Linked DNA regions of Homo sapiens: region 2 is linked to region 1. Evidence: promoter capture Hi-C in 16 types of primary human blood cells and fetal thymus (Javierre and others, 2016). All regions are on one chromosome and are shown on one strand. The core of a region is centred on a gene start or on the middle of the fragment in contact, and the rest is flanking DNA. Distances in the headings are between cores, read along the strand shown. Region 1 holds the start of STAU2 (staufen double-stranded RNA binding protein 2). Region 2 overlaps LINC01617 (long intergenic non-protein coding RNA 1617).

Region 1 (2,700 bases), core at 198-2,697:
CTAAAGAAAGCAAGGACGGGGAAGAAATATCCTGGAGAAATGTTGAAATCTTTTCTCCTCCAAGGTTACTATCACCCTGCCTGTCCATCACAATTTTGATTTCAAGTATTCACGATGCTGGTCTGAAACACAGGATGCATCAGAAGCCAAGTAATGCTCAGCAAAAGTTCACCAAAATTGTGAAAGCAAACATTAAATAAAAAACGTTTTCAATTAACAGTAAAATATCTTTAAAGGATCATCTCTAGCCTTTCTTTCTGCAGGATCCACCCACTTTAAAATCCTTTGGTAAATTCCCAGGTCTACCCTAATTGAATGGTCCCTCTCTATCTGCTCAAGCAGTTCTTAACCCTTTGGAGTGGGGATGGGGGTAAGGGGACATCACAGCAAATATGGACCCTTACCAAAGAAAATTATTCACAAATGCAAAATTCTACACACATTTCCAAAGACTTCCAGAATCCCACGGCCATTACCCCCACCGCCTCCCTAAGAATCCCAGAGTGGCGTGCTTCTCAATGGCCTCTGCGGAGCACCCCCAGCCCCCAAGCCACAGCCCCCGGCTCGACCCCGAAGAGACTAGAGTTCCTGCTCTCACACAGCGGATTCCGTAACTGAGCTTTGTCTCCTCGCCCAACTCCCTTCACCCCGGCAAGGTCACTACCGCCAACTACCCCTTTAAGCCGAGCCATCACGGTAGGAGTTCGTAACAGCCACAGCAGAACTTGCCTGTCATAGGATATATTTTGTCCCCTCGGCCCCACCTACCCTCCCCATTTCGGCAAGTTACGTCTTTACCACTAGCCCATTCTACAGAAATAGCTGCCGCCGCCACCCTCCGGCGCGCCCCGGCCCCGCCGCTCCGCCTCCAGCGCCCCCAGGCCCATTTCCCGCAGACCCTCCCCGGGCCGCCCTCCCCTGCCCTACTCTAGGCGCTCCCTCTCCCTCGCAGCCACACCGTGGCTGCACTCGCCGTCCTCTCTTCCGGCCGCTACCACCCCGGCCCCCTAGAACCCCAGCCTCCCGCGCCCGCAGCCGCGTTCCTGTCTCCCCGACCTCCGCACCCCCACTTGGCCCGGCCTCCTCGCCTTCCTCCCGGCTCCTCCCCTCAGGACACCTGTGTCGTCCCACCCCCTCCACCACACACGCACCCCCCACCCCAATTCCTTCGCCTCCCTGTCCTCCCTCCCCCGCCGGTCTCCCCTCCCCGCTGCTGCCCCGAGAGCCCGATGTGGGAGGGAAGGCGCGGGGGAGGGGAGGCCGCGAAGGGGGCTGCTTTTCTCCGGGTTCCCCGTGCTGCGGAACTGCAGGGCTCCCCAGCGCCCTCTGCCTTCTTCGCCGGCGGCGCGGAAGTCGGGGTCTCCCGGACGCCCCCGATGAGGGTATTTACCTTCTTGCCGGGGACACTTTGCAGACGGCTCCAACATTGGCAAACACTACAGAGAACTGACCCCGCTCGGCCGCCGCCGGCTTCCACCCCTCGGGCTCCCCGCCCCCCGCCTCCGCCCGCCTCCGCCCGCCTCCCCGGCGCTCCCGCCGCGCCCTCCCGCGCTCGCGCCGCGCGCCCCCGCCTGCGCAGCCGCTCCCGCGCCCCAGCACGCCCGGCCGGCGCGCGCGCCCGGCACCGGCTCTACCTCCACTCCGCCTCCCGCCGGCCCGCGACCAAGCGCGGCCATTGTTCGCGACGCAGCTCCCGCCCCCTGGCGGCTGCCGGGCCCCAGCAGCTGCAGGCTCTGCGGGGCTAGCGGCGGCGAGCTGGGCCCCTGGGCGAGGGCCATTCCCGGGGGGCTTGGGCACGCGGGCGAGCGACTGCGCAAGGAGCGCGCCCGGTCCGCAGTCTCCTCGTCCCCGGCGCGACTCCCCGCCCCCTCGTCTGCCAAGGGTGGGCCTGGGGCAGCCCCTTCCACACCTGCAACTCGGCAACTTCCTTCCCCGCCCGACTGACCGTCTGCTCTTTCTGGTCCGCACCCTGTGCTCTGATTCCCCGCTCGTACCTTTCCCAGGCTCTCCGGCTGCCCCTCTGTGCTGTGCAGGGGACGCGCGACCATCCCGCGTCTGCTCCGGCCGCCGCTGTGCAACGCACGGTTTAGCGGATCTTGCACCTTTCTAGACGGGGGAGGGGGCGGGGAGGAGGTTGCTTCACCGTCTCGCCCAGCAAACACCAGGGATCCGTGATCACCTGCTCGCCAAGACCCGCGGCGTGGCCAGACCTCCTCTTCTACCGAAAATATTAGTCACATGAAAAAGAATCCTTGGAGCCAAAAATGAGAACCATTGAAAACAATGCCCTGAATCCTAGATTTATGAGGCAAGAGTGCCAGAAAACAGAAATTACGTCTTAATTCGTCCTGGTTTTGATGTGGATTACTTTTGTCTAGATAACTTCAACCCAGTTAAGCTCAATGAAACTGAACACTTCGTTTAGTAACCGGCACCAAAAATAATCTGACAAAGAAATTTCGAAATAGAACTATTAGTGTGTTTTCACAAACTTACTCGTTTGCAACGTTATTTCTAGGGTTTCTTCCCAGTGTCACTTCTCTGACTGAGAAATGTCTCCCAGGCCGGTGATTTCAGTCATCATCTAAAACCAATCTCATGTCTGCACCTGGGAAGGTAGTGTGTGTCCTGGTTAACCGCAAGGGCGCCAGAGTCAGATAACCAAGGCTGGATATCCGCTTGCTAACTGGTGAGGAGACC
Region 2 (2,700 bases), core at 186-2,685, 140 kb after region 1:
AGTCTGTCACCCAGGCTAGAGTGCGGTGGCGCGATCTTGGCCCACTGCAACTGCAGCCTGCCGGGCTCAGGTGATTCTCCTGCCTCAGCCTCCCTAGTAGCTGGGACTACAGGCATGTGCCACCACACCTGGCTAATTTTTTGTATTTTTAGTAGAGACGGGGTTTCATCATGTTGCCCAGGCTGGTCTCGAACTCCTGGCCTCAAGTGATCCACCTGCCTTGGCCTTCCAAAGTGCTGGCATTACAGGGATTACAGGCCATGCTTGGCCACGTAAGAGTACATTGAACAAATGCATATGTTAACATTGTTTGGATCTAGATTCAAACAAACTGTAAAAGAGATATTTTTGAGACACCTGGAGAAAATTAAATATAGAGTAGATATTAGAGGATATTAAGGAATTATTATTTTTGTTAGATTTGATAATGATGTTCACTTTTTCATTTCCACAGCTATTAGAAATGTCCATCAGCTTACGAGGAGATTCTCCCTCATCTCACAAACTACCTGCATCTCCACTTCCCTGGAAGAAAAAAAAAATCTGGACATACCCAAGCTGTGTATGTGCCTGAGATCTTCCCTTCCAAGGTAAAGAGAGAGCCTGAGACAGGTCTAAATTAGCATCTGGACTTTCTGCTAGTAAAGAAAAGGAAATATGGGAAACTAAATAGTAACATTAAAGGACCCACAAAGGGACTACTGGGTAAGTGCTATAATGGATAATGTAATGTGATTTATGAATGCTTTTGTTCTAGTGATTTATTAAACTGGGAAGTCAGAAGCAGTCCTGTGAACATTTGTTTGTTGAAGCATGAAAAGGCAGAATTGATGAGTCCTTGCTTGAGTCTATGCCTCCACCCAGTAGTTTGTTCTTAGTCTCCTAGGGGCTGATCTCAGCAGAGAAATGGAGACAGTTCAGTCACCAACAGTTTGTTACTGGATTTTGGAAAAGGTACCAAAGTAAGAATCCAAGGCTTGTATTCTTATCTTAGCTCTGTGATTAACAAGCTTAGGTAAGGCTTCTAATCTTTCTGGGTTTCTTTCCTTATCAATAAAATGCGCAAGTCAGACTGCATAATCTTTATGGTTTCTTCCAAATTTCAAATTCCATGCATCTATTAAAGAGAATCAAAATTGTGCATGATTTGTCTAAAATACCATGTTAAAAAGTCTAAGATAAAATGAAATGGGAATTACATACCATTTTGAGTTTAAAAATCACTTTTGTAAATATATTAAGGAATGAACTTGGTTTTATTGCAATTTATGTAGAAATACTGGGAAGTAGAGGGGGCTTTGATTAACAATTTTAAAATGCTGATGCAATCCAGTCGAAATATAGATGGGATTTCATAAAGTAGCAAAAATTCTATATTCATAATTCAGAGTGATAACAAATGCATATCTATAAAGCAAAAGTGTGTTTTTAAAAGTAATTTTAAATCCCAGTCATTTCATTTAAGTCTTCTAATAAAGGATGAAGAAGATGAACAAAATAACAATGGTTTGTAAGTGTGACTTATTTTGAGTGTGACTTATTCTACGTGTCAAAAATAGTTGATTTATATACACATATAGTTTGCAAAGAAAACTGTGAATCAGGAAAACTTTTACTTTATTCCCCATCTTTGCCCTTCTCTAGCAAGAGTTCTTTTACCCATGTCTGCAGCCCTTGATATTCCCTGTTTATTTCTCACCTAAACCTCTTACCAAACATGTTCATAGCAAGCCGTTACTTGAAAAGACTGTGGTTCCTTTTTATTTATTTATTTTTGCCATGGATCTCATTAAAAATCAAATGAAAGCCATGGACCCACTCCACAGAAAAATACATATACCCATGAAAATTTGTATTTCAGGAAGCTTCCTGACCCTTAGAAGTTCATCCATCAGGGTCAGGCATGGTGGCTCATGCCTATAATTCCAGCATTCTGGGATGCTGAGGCAGGAGGATCGCTTATGCCCAGGAGTTTGAGACTAGCCTGGGCAACATAGCAAGACCCCATCTCTAAAAAAAAATTAGTTGGGCATGGTGGCATATGCCTACTACTTGGAAGGCTGAGCTGAGATGATCACTTGAGCCAAGGGCATCAAGGCTGCAGTGAACTGTGATCATGCTACTGTACTCCAGCCTAGGTAAGAGTGAGGCCCTGTCCCCTGACCCAAAAAAAAAAAAAAAAAAGTTTATCCATCAGATCAGCAGCATAGGTGTATAAACCTCAAGATAAGGCTGGGCTTGGTGGCTCACACCTGTAATCCCAGCACTTTGGGAGGCTGGGGGCGGGGGAGGGGGTGCAGATCACCTGAGGTCAGGAGGTCGAGACCAGCCTGGCCAACATGGTGAAACCCTGCCTCTACTAAAAATACCAAAAGTAGCCAGACATGGTGGCATGCACCTGTAATCCCAGCTACTAGGGTGGCTAAGGCAGGAGGATAGCTTGAAGCCGGGAGGCAGAGGTTACAGTGAGCCAAGATCACGCCACTGCACTCCAGCCTGGGTGACAGAGGGAGACTCTGTCTCAAAAAAAAGAAAAAAAAGAAAAAAGATAAGACCACTTTTCCTTTGTGTGGAAGCTGGATTTTAGGCCAGGCATGGTGGCTAACACCTGTAATTCCAGCACTTTGGGAGGCCGAGGCAGGCAGATCACTTGAGGTCAGGAGTTCGAGACCAGCCTGGGCAACACACTGAAACTCCATC

The links. Contacts are between HindIII fragments. The CHiCAGO score rates a contact against its expected background, and 5 or more counts as called.
Region 2: a contact is called between a fragment that was not itself captured here and the fragment with the promoter of STAU2 in region 1, in 11 of 17 cell types (neutrophils, naive CD8 T cells, non-activated CD4 T cells and 8 more). The highest score is 11.8, in neutrophils.

What each region holds. Positions count from the first base shown.
Region 1 is chr8:73,745,393-73,748,092 of GRCh38, forward strand. It overlaps STAU2 (staufen double-stranded RNA binding protein 2), which reads right to left and starts at 1,448. Exons shown (of 15, transcript NM_001164380.2): 1 at 1,391-1,448. RefSeq lists silencers at 851-910, 1,021-1,200, 1,491-1,580, 1,661-1,950. The HindIII fragment of the contact is 14,890 bases long and covers 1-2,700 here.
Region 2 is chr8:73,881,573-73,884,272 of GRCh38, forward strand. It overlaps LINC01617 (long intergenic non-protein coding RNA 1617), which reads left to right. Exons shown (of 3, transcript NR_147034.1): 2 at 455-590; 3 at 758-1,502. Among named protein-coding and RNA genes, the nearest start is that of LINC01617, 3.9 kb to the left of the region's middle. The HindIII fragment of the contact is 855 bases long and covers 1,009-1,863 here.